Regions from separate parts of the Homo sapiens genome. Here region 2 is linked to region 1. Evidence: promoter capture Hi-C in human tissues and cell types (Jung and others, 2019). All regions are on one chromosome and are shown on one strand. Each heading gives the region's core, a stretch centred on a gene start or on the middle of the fragment in contact. The rest is flanking DNA. Distances are from core to core; before and after follow the strand shown.

Region 1 (7,173 bases), core at 4,030-6,529:
ACAGGCACTGCAACCTCATCACCTCACACGGCTCTTCCACATAGCAAGGCTTCTGTAAATATATCTTGATTTACAAATCAGTCCAATGTGACACAAATAGAGGCATCTGCCACACTCCAACAAAAGAAGAGTGAAAAAACAGGATAGAAATGTCTTTGTTTCTGTCTATGCCTGATGAATGGTGAGTGGGTAGAAGAGAGCATAGATGTTCAAATGAAAGCAATTTGACAGCATCTGCATGGAGTACCATTTAACCTCGCCTCCTACTGGGCAGGTATTCATAACAACTGCCTCACAATGTCAGCCACTGCTCCACGTTCCCAGGAGAGGGCCCATTAAGAAAGTCACCAATTCATTTCAGCTTGGCTTATAATTAATGCAGCAACCTCTGGCATCAATAACCTATGGATTGGCATATGAGTAGGGCATAATTTACAATCTCTATATAAAATGTCATTTTAAAGACTTGTGGTCTTGTCTCAGGTAATTTCAAACAAAATTTTTAAAAAATTTTTACTCAATAGGTGTCCTCATTGCCACTGCCATCTCCTCATATTTTCCCCACGCCAATGCTGGCCCCTAATCTCTACAAAAAAGCAAGAGCAAGGAATGGAGGGAGGGAGGAAGACGAATGATGAGCAGGAGAGGATCTTAGAGATCTAGGACAACTGGTACCCCATTTTACAGATGAGAAAACTGAGACCTCCTGATATTGTGGGACAAGCACATGGATTTGGTCAAAATCTATTAAAATCCTGCCGCCTCCATTTACCGTGTGATCTAACCTCTCCAGGCTACTGTTTCCAGAACTGTAAAAGGCAAATAACATCCCTCACGGGCTTGTTTTGAGGATTAAATGGATAAGGAGTGTGAAGGCGCCGACCACACATACGTGTTCAAAGGCCAGGGAGTCAAAAGTCAGACCCCAAAACTAGTTTCCTTCCTTGTTGCCTCCCCAGGATTCTTGGAAGAGAATATTTACTGCAGCTGAAACCTCCCATTCATACAAAAAGGACGCTGGAGACAGAGGGAAGCCACTGAAGAAGGCAGTAAGTGGCTAACAAAACCACAACTGCCATCTGTTCTTTGCTTTCTTTCTGAGTGTCTCTGGACAAGGACAAGTTAAATTCAGGAACACTGTTTTCAGCCAGCTGGGCGGGGCTGCTGGAAGGCAGGAGGGATCACCAGGAGGGCAGAGGCTCCTTCCCCAGCCTCCAGGACAAGGATGCAGAAACTGCCCAGCTGGGCAGCAAATACCTTTCAGTCTCCCTCAGTCCACACCATTCGGGTCTCTGGCAAAACATAACAGTTCAGCATGTGCACACAGGCTGAGGAAAGCAATAAAAGGGTTCTTGCAAGGTAAAAAGGATGTGGCTTTTAAACACTCATGCACCACGGAGAGTCCCTTGCCCCCTCCCGCCTCCCCCCCTTCTATTTGGGACACCCTCCATCAAAGCAAACAGGCTTCTCAGGAATCCCCACTACCACCACCCCCAAGCCTCCGCCAGGAGTGAGGTAGCCGCCTTCTGGAGGGAAGCCACTCTCCCCTCCCTGAGGGGCTGTCTCTTGCCCGCTGCACCTTGTAATGGTTCTCCCAGCAGCCAAGCTAAATGACGAAGTTGGCCCACAAAGTTAGAGCAATTCAGGCGACAGCTATTTAACAGCTCAGACGGGGCTCAGCTCAAAGCGCTTCCTTTCCTCCAGGGAGCTGCATTTTTCTAAGATTATTGTTTCTCGGGCTGGCTGCTCAGCTACTCAGCGTCATTTCCCCTTTGGGTGGGAAAGTTCTTTCCTTCTGCATTGATTTTCATTATGATTTAAGCCTTCTCTCCCTCTCATCTGCAGATCTCACAATTAAAGCATAGCATATGGATCACAAAATTAAGGCATATAAACTTTGCATTCAGCTTAGAACTGTGGCTCGGAAGTCCTGAGTGGTAGAAAAACACACGCAGAAAAAGAAAACCTCTAGGTCTCAGCATCTTGTCACCACTGGCTGAAACACCAGCAATAAACATCAGCTGAACAGCCAGCAGGGTGACGGGTGGGTGCAAAAGCTTAACAATGGCTATATAAACAGGGAGCTGCTCTCCAGGGACTTACAGTCTAATACAGGCAAACAATCCACATAATGGAATGCAAACGCGGTTACTCAGCAGTGAGAAGTTGAACTCTGCCAGGAAGAGAAGAGCTGGAAATGGCCCACAGGGAAGAAAAGGACATCTGTGGCCCTTGCTGCTGACATCAGTGTATTTGGAAGTCCCAGGGGCCAGGCCCTGACTACCAGCATCCCCATGGCACGAAAGGCCTGCAGGAAGCTTCTCCAACAACCAAATGGAGCACGTTACTTGTAAGACTCAGGGCTTGTTAGTGACAGTAGCATGGTGCCTCCCCAAACACAAAAATGCTGAGGGAGAGCCGGGATGACCATCTGTCAGGGGTGCTGGAGGGGCAGACATTTGCATGGGACACATTGCAGACTGGAGGACCTGTGGAGGCCCTCTCAGCATTGAGACCTTGCTGCCTTGTGAAATGAGTGATAGCATCTAGTGATACAGGAGGACCCATCCAAAAGGCTCCCAATCCTGGTTATCAGAAAACTCAGACTCACTGAAATCACTGAACACTGGTTTTCTTATGTGTTGTTTCTTTTTTACCCCTAAATGATACTGTTTGAGCCACTACCAGAAAAAAAAGCACAGGTCATGCCTAGATCCTTGGCCATATGAGTAGCTTCTAGCAGCTTCAACAGGTGTTCATTTCATCTCTTCTAATCGCACCTTCCTAACATCCCTTCAGAGATTGGGCCTTTGAGCCACTGAAGAGGAGGCACTCCTTGGGTGGTGTCTGTGGGGCACCAGGAGACCAAGAGAACCTACCTAGGTAAGAGAAGGTGTACACTATTCCAACTACTCTCTCGCTGCTTTCTGGGATTCTCACATGTATTCCTTCCAGTACCTCATATACCTGAAGCCTCCATCACTCACCTCTGCAAAGGAATCAAACTGGGAAAGCCACAAAACCAAGACCAGCAGTGTTACCTGCCACACCTGTGAGGGATGTTTGGGTCACATAAGGCCCCAATTCTTACCAGCTGAGTCCTCTAAGCTAGCTGCCTCCACTGTCCCTACCTCTCTGTAATACCTGTAATACCTACCTCTCTCTAGAGATCCCGCCCCTAAGAGAAGGAAAGAGACTCATGTGCCTGCCCCATCCAGCCAGGGCCCCTGCAAGTCAGTGTCCCTCCCACCTATCCCCTAACAAGATGGAGGCCATTCAGCTAAGACAGCCTGACTACTACCCAGAGAAATCTGCCTTCGGCTCTTGGGTGTCTCCTCTGAAATGTTCTCAGTTCTCTGCAGTTCACCTTCTGTTTAGAAAAACTCACAAAATACTACACAGTGTTCCTCAGTTACTTTCCTAGTTGGAGAAAGTCGGGAAATATGTTGTTTTATGTTCTTGATTCCTTCCCGTGGAAGTTAGCAAAACAGCGTATGCTGTAAGTAATCTAAAGTCACAGTCACTCCGGGATGTGTCTCCTACACGTCTTCAGAAGCTTATCTCTCCTCTCCCTTTTCTTACTGTTCCTCGGTTTCTCAATCTTATGCCAGTGATTTAAAAATTCACAAAATAAGGCATTTTGCGATAATGGGAATACTGTTGAATATGAAATTGAGTTTTTACAGGAGAACTTGATTTTTAAAAATCCAAACTTTTTCTTATTTAACTCTAAGAAGCACCTCTAGGTTGGAGGAAGCAAGCTAATTCACGTGCCAGAAAGTCTGCATGAGATGAGAAACTTAAATGAATTGTCAATTATGCAGACAAAAAACTCAACTTTCAGGGAAACTCCAAATCAATGTCCAGTGTTGCAAGCAACCCAGCTTATTTGAATAGCCCGGACAGAGCATATGCCCTGTGTCACTCACAGGAAGGCAAAGGCTAACACCACCACGTTGCTGACTTTGTTCAAAGCACTTTCCATTTATTTTTACTTTCATTTTGTCACATCATCACTAGGAGGCTAGAAGGAACAGGGATCATCACTTTCATTTCACAGATGGAGAAAGTGAGCGCAAAGAGACAGCAGTCCCAAGGTCATAATGGTATTATGGTTAGAATTCCACTCAGTATGTGGCATATTTTTCCAGATCATAAGAAAGAACTGGACACAAAGGTAGCAGGGAGAAGAGGTCAGTTCCTTCTCTCTGCGTGGGACAGGCGGTGGCTACCACGGAGCAACAGTTCATTGGGAAAGGAAAGGGGAGGGAGGAGGCTCAGGGATGGTCCTGTATCAGCCTGTGCCTTGCAGGGGTTCAACCATGCAACCCCAACCGCGTTCCTTTGCTTTTAAGTCGAACCAGTAGAGCGTTTTGTTTCAAACTACGTACATCCTTTGTCCTTTACAATATCCCGTCCTAGAACCCCTTAAAAATCAGTTATTTAGATGAGAAAGTCGAGCCCTGTACCTGGAGAGGCCAGTTCTGTATAGCGGAAAAAATGAAACTGGGGACCGGCTGGCCAGATATCGGAGGTGGGAGAGATGCTTTGCAGTCTTTTTCCCTTTCCTTTCCATTTTTTTTAAAGTGGGGTGGAAGAGATACAGGGTACCCCATAGGAAATAAGTTTTCTTCCAAAGGGTTGGAGGAGAACGGGATAGTCACACCCCTCAGTCCAGCCAACTGCGAAAGCGTCCCTCCCTACCCGCCGACCCTCAGGGTCCCGCACACGCCGGGCGAGGAGCCCCCACCCTGGGTCGCGCCGCGCGGAGGGGCCTACGGCTGGGGATGCAGCCCGGGGCGCGCCCACGCCCCCAGCACAGACTGGCCAGGCGCCAGGTTCCCGGCTCTCACTCACCCGCGCTCCCGCCTCTGGGGGCCCGGCCGGAGGGTCCCCGCTGTGTCGCGGCGCCTGGCTCAGGGGCCCTGTAGCTGGGGCCGGGGGTCGCGGGCCCGCGGCGCTCCCGGGGCGGCGTGGGCGGCGGCTCGCGCTCCGGGCGGCGCTCCAGCTGCAGCTCCAGCCCCGCTCCCGCGAGGGGCGCCAGGCTCAGCGCGCGGCGAGCCGGGGAAGGCGGCGGGTCCCGCGTCCCGGGGGCCGCCGGCGGCAGCAGCAGCAGCGGCAGCAACAGCAGCAGGAGCGGCGGCGGCCACCGCGAGGCGCGCGGCGAGGCCATGGTGACGGCGCCCGCCCGCGCTCACATGCCCGGCGCGCGGGGCGAGGGCAGCGGGCAGCGGGCAGCGGGCGGCGGGGGCCGCGCGGGGCCGGGGAAGTGAGCGGAGTGAGGCTGCGAGCGCGCTCCCCGCCTCAAAAGTTATCGGGAGCCGCGGGAGGGCTGCCGGGGGCCGGGCTGGCTGGGCGGAGGCGGCCCGCGGCGCCGCTACATGCTAATTAGCCCGGGCGGGTCGCTGGCTGGCGGGCGGCTCCTCCTCAGTTGACATCACCGGCCCCGCGCGGCGGGCCCGGAGGCGGGGAGAGGGCAGGAAGGGGGCTGGGGCCGGGCGCCTGGAGAGCGGCCCGGCCCGGGACAGCGGGATGAGGTCAGCGGAGCCACGGTGCTGCAACTTTTGTCACACACATGCTCCAGAGTCTTCTGAATCGGGCACCACCTACCCAACTCCTTAAACGCACAAGAAGTAGGTGAAAAGCAGGTCCTGGGTAATGTGATTAGCACCAGACTAGATTATCCCAAGTGCTTTGATAGGAGAGAGAAAGGGAACGGTCCCCTGGTACCCAGCCCGCGCTGTCACCGCCGTTATTGATTTGAAGTGTCCCCACTCCCACCCCCACCTCCCCTTCTTCAGGCCCCAGGGCTGGTGATGAGCTCGTGTTTGCCAAACCTAACACCTCACCCTCCGGCCAACGCGAGAATCCGAGTATCCCCCACGCCCTCTCAAGCTTGGATGCCGTTCCCATCCGACCACTGCCTTTGGCTCACACCAGAGTTCTGCAGAGATGTCACCGCGAGGACACCCAAACAGGCTGCAGGGAAAAGAAAACTGTGAATTCAGGCAGGCTAGGGCAAACTCATCATCAGGAAAAGAACTGCAGATCGCAAATTAAACCAAATGATGCCCAGAGAACACAGAATTTTAAATGGAAACCTATGGGGAAAGATTCAAAGATTTCATGTAAACAAATTTTCTTGGTCAATAAAGTTCCATTTGTTTCCATAACCTCTCCCTCCCCAGTAAATGAATAATAAACTGTCTAAAGTTTAGGACTGTAAGCCACCTCATTAAGTGAAGAAAGAGGGGCTCAAATGGGAAAATAACTTGCTCAAGATTCTGAAGGTAGACCCGAAGACGAAATGATTGATCTGTGAATGACCATGTGATATTATTAATTCTGGTCTCCTAATTCAGAGTTTGCAATAATTCGCAAACGGAAACAAATAGTATTGCAACAGAAACAAATGTTGCAGCTCCTTGGGGTTCTTGCGAGTTCTGTTGGGGGCCCCTGTCTGACAACCAAATGCTCGTGAAAATATGAGTATGCACCTCACTGTCAGGCCTGGCTCTCCATCCTATTTCTCTGCTCTTCTCTTTTTCTCTGTCTCCAGATCTCCATGACCCACCTCCAGGAGAATGAGATCGTAGTGTCCAGGGCAGCTGCAGATGGGCCTAGGCCCACTTTCTGGTGACTCAGTACAAGTGAGTCATTTGGCAGAAAAACATAAAGGAGGCTGTGTATAAACAAACTCACCTTAAATGAGAGAATGAGGAGTAAAGATTTGGTTTTATTTTGTTTTGTTTTTAAACAAACCAGCTTTCCAGGGCTCTAACACAGAACTTCCAGGTCTCTCCAAGAAAGTACCAAACAGTAATCTCCCTGAAACTGACTTGGTTTGCTCCCATGGCCTGAGCTTAACTTCTCTGGATGCTGCTCTCACATTAACAGGCAGGACTGCACAGCTGCCCAGACCCAGCCAGACAAGCCCCAACAGACTAGGACTGTGCTCAGAGGTTCTGGTCACTGCCACTCCCTCCCCTCCAAGGAGACCATGTCACATAGTACTGGTTGCACTCCCAGGCAAGTGGAAAGGTTTAAGGGTAGAATGGCCCTTACAGGCTTCTCGTGTGGATTCAGGGATCCTATGAGATAATCTGCCTTCTCTACTAAGACCCAAGGAGTAAACATGTACCTGCCACCTCCCCCCAATCCTCCCCCACCCCC
Region 2 (7,173 bases), core at 2,276-4,775, 130 kb after region 1:
GGAATAGGGAGCCTCAAAACCCCAACCGCACCCTAGAGGAAGGAGGAGCTCAAATCAATAACCCAACCTGTCACCTTAAGAAACTAGGGAAAGATGAGCAAAGTGAACCCAAGCAAGCAGAAGAAGGAATCAATAAAGGTCAGAGCAGAAATGAATTAGGGATCAGAAAAACAATAGAGAAAATCACCAAAACCAATAATTAGTTCTTTGTAAACACACCTTTATCTAAGCTGATCAAGAAAAAAGAAAGAGAAGACATTATTTAAATTAGGAATGAAAGGGGAGACATTACCACCAAACTTACACAAATAAAAAGGACTATAAGAAAATCTATAGACAATTAATATGCCGATGCATTAGATAACCTACGTGAAGTGGACAAATTCATGGCCGAGCACAGTGGCTTACGCCTGTAATCCCAGCACTTTGGGAGGCCGAGGCGGGCGGATCACCTCAGGTCGGGAGTTCAAAACTAGCCTGACCAACATGGAGAAACCCCATCTCTACTAAAAATACAAAGTTAGCCGGGTGTGGTGGCGCATGCCTGTAACCCCAGCTACTCGGGAGGCTGAGGCAGGAGAATTGCTTGAACCCAGGAGGTGGAGATTGTGGTGAGCCGAGATCACGCCATTGCACACCAGCCTGGGAAACAAGAGCAAAACGGCGTCTCAAAAACAAAAAACAAAAAACAAAACAAAATTCCCAGATTAAAAAAAAAAAAAGAAATGGACAAATTCCTAGGAAGATATAAACTATCAAAACTAAATCAAGAAGAAGTAGAAAATCAGAATATGCCTATATAAGTAAAGAGATTCCATTAGTAACCAAAAAACTTTCTATCAAAAAAAACCCAGGACCAGATGGCTTCATGGCAAAATTCTACCATATGTTTAAAGAATTAACACCAACCCTTCACAAACTCCTCCAAAAAATAGAGAAGGAGGGAACACCTTCCAACTCAGTCTACGAGGCCAGAATTAGCCTGACACCAAAACCAGACAAAGAATCACAAGGAAACTACAGACCAATATCCCTCATGAATATATACACAAAAATCCTCCACAAAATGTTAACAAACCAAATTCAGCAATTTATAAAAAGGATTACACACTAACCACACCCTGATCAGGGACTCCTGGCCCGCGCCAGCGACAAACAAAGCACAGGCACTCCAGAGACAGTGACCAGGGGGACTCTAATGTTTGGGACCAGGGCCCAAGTGGAAAGGCAGGAAAATAGCTGGGATGCTGGTGCAGTGGCGTCTCAGGCCGTGGCTGCCAGCACTTAGAAAACATCTTATCTGTGAACATCTTTTTTCCAAATCAGCCCATGTAAGTGGGACTCTCAGCAGCACAGATGCCTGTCTTTGTCCAGGGGTGTTCACACCAGTGCCCATCCATGGCATCTGCCTCTAGAGGCTCACTTGGTGTCTGTACCGAGAGGGGGAAAGCAGGATTTTGCCTACCTTGCAGCCTGGTTGGCTATAAAATAGCAGAGAAGTAAAAAAAAAAAAAAAATTTATATACCAAGTCCCCAGGGTAATAAAGTAAACTGACCATTTATTACTCCCCTCTCCAACTACTATACTTAAATAACTTTCTGCAGTCAAGGCAAGTGCTTTTTAAGAGTGCAGAGGCCATCTGTTTGCCTTTCCTGCACTGTCTTAGACACACACAGGCACCCCCACCGCCCACACATGCACACACGCAGCTCTGTGCTGTTCGAGAATCAGATATATTTATGCTGAAACACCCTGCTCCTGCTGCCTAAAAATAAAAGAAACAAAACCGATGCTTTCTCTGGGGAGATTCTTGCACACTCTAACTTAGACAAATTCTTCTCTTTAAACTGTTTTTTCAACCACCCACCACCATTTGCACTCTCATAAAAGCCTTTTTCAATCCAAGAAATGCTGACAAAGAACTGCTTCTTAATGTCTGTACTTTGTTCCCTCAGCATTAAGTCACCATGCCTGTGTTTTAGCTAAAAAAGCCTTAGGATTTCCCCCTACTCGCTCGTTTTCGGAGTGCCTCCGTCCATTCTGATGAAGCACACTCCTCATTAACATTCTCCCTCTCAGACAGGGCGTCCACACAAGAGGCTGTCAGCCTCCCTGTGAAGGCCACCCGAGCTATCAAATGCTCCCGGGAGCTCCTGCTCATTTGAGAAGTGCCTGCTTCTAGGAAAGCCCTTTGGCACAGGCAAAATACCCATCTTCAGTAAAAAAGCGTCCCAGGGCCCAGGCCACCTGGCTGCCACCTGGCTGCCACCTGGGCTTCAGCCACTGTCATGCAATCTGGTCCCCAGATTGAACAGCAAGAATGTGCTGGCCAGGCCCTGCCCTGCTGGTCACATCAGGCATCCAGGAGGCGGGAGTGGCAGAGGGAAAGGAGTGCTGGACTAAGAGGTCAGGCCCTGGATAGTGACTTGACTCTCTGCTGAATTCCCTTCAGAGCCCCAACCTGCTCGTCTGTCACATGCGGCAATTGTCCCCACCCTCGCTTCTCCCCAGGTCAAGTGAGGAAATGGACAAGAAGAAAGTGGCAGAGGGCCAGGCAGGGGAAGCATCCCGGGCGCAGGCCTCACCTGTCCAAACACATAGAGCAGCCCGATGGTGCCTCCCGTCTGCCCACCCAGGACCGAGGAGATCATGGAGTAGACGCCACCGCTGCCGATGCTGCTGCGCTCCCCGACGCCAATGCCAGACAGCACCGTGACGAGGGCCACCAGGATGACGAAGGACACCAGGAACATGCCCAGGAGCACTCCTGTGTTTCCCTGCAGCAGAATAGCAAGGAGCAAGGTTGGATTAGGTGAGGAGGCCCCGCCAGCTCCCTGCTGGGGGCATTGACCACCTCCCCTCCTCCCACAGCACTGGAATAGGGGCCAGGGGTGGGGGCACAGAGTCAGGACAACTAAAAAGGACAAAGCAAGCACCACAACAGCCAAGGCCAGGAAGAAGTTCTAAGTGAAAGGAAGCGTCCTGGCTGCAAATTCTTCAATGACTCTCCCACCTATAGGGTACAGTCAGAGCTGCTGATGCCCTCACGAGGTGCCTCCTAATCTCACTTTGTGCCTGACGTGCAGCGACAAGTTCTCTCCCCACCCCCACCCCTCCTCATGCTGATTCCCCTGCCTGGAAGGCCTCTCCTGCTCATTCTGTACCTTTGTCAGGTTAACTCCAGCATATCCTTTAGGCCTCAACGTTTAGGATTTCTCACCAGGAAGCTGGCCCTGTAACCCTTTCTCTGGGCTCCTCCAGTGCCAGGGCTTAGTACTTTTCACAGGACTTGTCATATTGAGTCTGTTTCCAAGCCAGTTTTGACCTCTAGGCTGTGAGCTCCAGGGGAGGATGATATGGTTTAGATGTTTGGATTTGGATCCCTTCCAAATCTCATGTCGAAATGTGATCCCCAATGTTGGAGGTGGGGCCTGGTGGGAGGTGTTTGGGTCATGGGGGTGGACCCCTCGTGAATGGCTTGGTGTCCTCCCACAGTAATGGGTGAGTTCTCACTCTGTTCGTTCACAGGAGAGCTGGTTGTTTAAAAGAGCCTGGCATCTCTCTTGCCTTCTCTCCGGCTACGTGGCACGCTGCTCCCTCTTCACCTTCCCCCATGAGTGAAAGCTTGCTGAGGCCTCACCAAGTGCAGATGCTGGTGCCATGCTTCTTGTACAGCCTGCAGAACTGTGAGCTAAATAAACCTCTTTTCTTCATAAATTAGCCTCAGGTATTCCTTTATAGCAATGTAACATGGACTAATACGGAGCAGGATCATGTTTTCTTCCCCTTCATATTCTCAGTGCTTAGCATAACCTCCACAAAATAGGTGTTCATTAAATGCTTGTTGAGCGAATAAACAAACCATGCATGGCTGGAGATGAACACATGTAGACAGACACATTTCAGTGTGAAAAGCAAGAGTCGCAGAGAGGCAGTGGACACAGCACTTCTAAGAAGGAGATGTAATGTCACATGTTTTGCAATAGAAAGCAAGGAAGACTCCTGATAGTCAAGACTTCATGTGTTGTGAGTGCTGGAGAGGGTCCTAGGAGTGGGCAGAGCCAGTTCAAGAGCTGAGTGGCCTAACATGAGCTGGAAAATTGTCCTGGAAGTCAGTTGTACTCTGTTCCAGTGTTTATAATATAATGCTCAAGGGCTCCACTGCTGGTCTGAGACCCACCCTGGCTGTGGCTAAGGCCGAAACCTGAGCTGAGGATCTGAGTGTGGTGTAGAATGAGAGCTTAGGAAGGTCTGGTCTTGCCCAGACTTCTTATGGGGGCTAAGAATCCTGTACATCCCACTATAAAGGAGCTTAAATCTCCCCAAATTTGCCTATGTAATGGTTAATTTTATATGTCAACTTGGCTAGACTACGGCAACTAATTGTTTAGTCAAACACTAGTCTAAATGTTGCTGTAAAGGTGATTTTCAGATGTGATTAATATTTACTATCAGTTGACCTTAAGTAAAGGAGATTACCCTCCATAGTATGGGTGGGCCTCGTCTAATCAGTTGAAGGCCTTACAAGCAAAGGCTGGTTTCCCAAAGAGGAAGGAATTCTGCCTCCAGGCTGCAATACAGAAATTCTTCCTGCATTTCCAGCCTTCAGACTCAAGACTGCAGCATCAATCCTTACCTGCTAATATATACATGACATACTTACATCTCCTGTTGGCATTGGCCTGTTTCTCTGGAGAATCCTGACTAGTAGATTCTACACCTTGAATGGCCTCCTCTCTTTCACCCATCTAGTCCAGCTCACCCTTCAAAGCCTGGCTCAACTGCATCTCCTCCAGGAAGGCTTCCTGACACCTCAGTGACTGCAGCACTCATAGCCTGTTCCACCCCAAGGGACTTAATGCTGTTTTCAGAACTCTCCTAATGCAATATCTACCCACCACAGCTGTTAGCTCATAGGGCGGGGCGGGGAAGAGAGGAGGGGATGAGGGCCCAGGCCATGTCTTGTCTTTTGTGATCCCACTGGCACTAAGTAGTGCTTGGCCCACAGCAGGTGCTCATCCATGTTTAGATGGTGACTGGCTTGCCTTTTGTTCTGCGCACCTGTGTGGTCTACTGAAGTCCCACTGCATGAGATGGCACTGTGTGTGGGACTGAGAACCCCTGCCCCAGGCACACATCTGCTTGGAAGGTCCTAGGATGCTTTGCATAAGAATTAAAGAAGAGGCCTTTTGTTCCTTCTACAGGGGGAGATGAACTGACCCCCAGGATCTCACACAGCAGAGTCCATCCTAGGCAATCCATCCCTAGAGGTAGGCGGCCCACACCTCTGACCAAGCATCCCCATGCACAGTCTTACCTACAGGGTTGCAGTGTGGTGGGGGAAGGCAACCATGTGGGCGGGCCCAAGATGAAGTGAAGAATACCGGGAAAACTACAGAGGGCCACAAGCTGGAGGCAAAATTGCCATCAATCTGATCTCTCTGACCCATCTCAAGTCCGGCTCATGATGAGCCCTGACTTCTGTGCTCCTATTCTGCAGTTAAATCTATGGTGTGAGGTTTCCATTAGAAATTCGGAAGCCTATCTTCACAGGATGCTCATTTAACAAGCAATGCTAGCTATTCATCGTGCTTGCTTCTGTTTCGTGTTTCAGGAGCATCTGTGCTTCAGGAATCTGTGGCCTGCACTGTAGAATGCAAGAGTGGCAGAGCTTTCCTGTCTTGGGCCCGTGAGAGGCTCCAGGCCACCAACTCAGCACTCACCACCAGCCAGCCAGTCCTCAGGAAGAGCACAACCCCAAAGATGTTGATCATGCAGGATGTGAACACACCATCCCAGGTCCCAAACAGCACAGGCTCCCACATGAACAGCTGGGTCTTCCACCAGGGCTGGGGCTGGGCCAGGGCATCCTGCAAACAGAACACACAGAAATCAGCTGAGGGGCCATTGGGAGGGCCAGGGATGGCATGAGAGTGGAACAGGAGGAGGGAGGTAGGAGAACTCAGCTTAAAAACAGTCCTGTCTTATTGTGCCAGGGCAAGTGTGTGTGTATACACACATGCATGCACATACACACACATGCGCACACACACATCTTGAAGCATACCTCTACAAAAGGATCACTGTTCTCTTGTAACAACAGTGATTCCGTATCCATATGTAGCAGAGACTCATTATTCACAAACGTAGTCCTTTTCCTCTGGTCATCACTCAAGTAGTCAGGGAGTCAGGTAGACTCCCAGCCTCTTTGCAGCTAGAAGTGGCTGTGTGACTGAGTTCTAGCCCATGGAATGCAGGCAGAAGCAATAGATGACACTTCTAAGTGAGTGTGAGATTCTGGGTTTCACCTCCTGGGGCTCATGGTCATGAGCCCTCTTCATCCTCCAGTCCTAGCAGGGACAGCAGCTTCCGGCAGTTGACATTTGGCCAACCTTACTGAAGCGCTCTTTGCTCCTTCAGCCCTTCTAACACCTCTGCAATCAGCCCTGTGGATGAGATTCCCTGTTTAAAATGACTGAAGTTATTTCTGTTTTCCTTACTGAGCACTAATACAGTGATCTCTGCTGATACCCCAGGATTCTTCAGCATTACTGGACAATTGTTTGGAATCAGAGGCGAATAATGAAAAAACAGATTCCTTGCTCATTTTTCCAATTCACAAATAACAAAGGCACTTATAAACACTCAAATGGAAACCCTTTACTAAAAAAACCATAACTTCGTGGATATACTAAAATGATCTTAAACAAAACCAGTAGTAACTCACACTGTGAATGCTCTTATGTAGGTTTGGCAATTAATCTAAACTCAGGCATGAACAGAGTCTTCCAGTGACCACAAACGACTACAGCAGTGATTACGGTTCTCAGCTGGGTGGGGTGGGTGGGGAGAGAGAGGCATCCAAAGCTAGGAGTCACTGTGTGCAATGAATCTGGACCTGGTGAGCAAATGTTATCCATAAACACAATAAAAAGGCAGAAAAATCAAGAGTTTAGGGAAAAATCCAAGATCCAGAGTCCACGGGGCATGGCTCCTGAATGGCTGAGAACAATGGGTGCGCCCAGGATCTAGAACCAAAGGCTAAGGCCAACGGCATGTGCTCAAAACCAAAAGGGAGGATCCCAGCTCCTCTTCCACCTCCTGTATCAGACATCCACAGATCAAGAAGGGGCCTCGAGAAATACTCAGGGATCTCAATTCAGCCACATGGG

Evidence for each region. Contacts are between HindIII fragments. The study calls those that stand out against the background at their distance.
Region 2: a fragment that was not itself captured here is called in contact with the fragment with the promoter of HEG1 in region 1 in 1 of the 25 tissues and cell types used here (IMR-90 fibroblasts).

What each region holds. Positions count from the first base shown.
Region 1 is chr3:125,050,718-125,057,890 of GRCh38, forward strand. HEG1 (heart development protein with EGF like domains 1) reads right to left here and starts at 5,280. Exons shown (of 17, transcript NM_020733.2): 1 at 4,858-5,280. The coding sequence starts at 5,173. RefSeq lists enhancers at 1,121-1,250, 5,794-5,843 and silencers at 1,391-1,440, 4,774-4,933, 4,994-5,083, 5,164-5,543. The HindIII fragment of the contact is 8,893 bases long and covers 2,938-7,173 here.
Region 2 is chr3:125,184,651-125,191,823 of GRCh38, forward strand. It overlaps SLC12A8 (solute carrier family 12 member 8), which reads right to left. Exons shown (of 14, transcript NM_024628.6): 3 at 5,725-5,871; 4 at 2,587-2,778. Among named protein-coding and RNA genes, the nearest start is that of SLC12A8, 25 kb to the right of the region's middle. The HindIII fragment of the contact is 3,800 bases long and covers 1,626-5,425 here.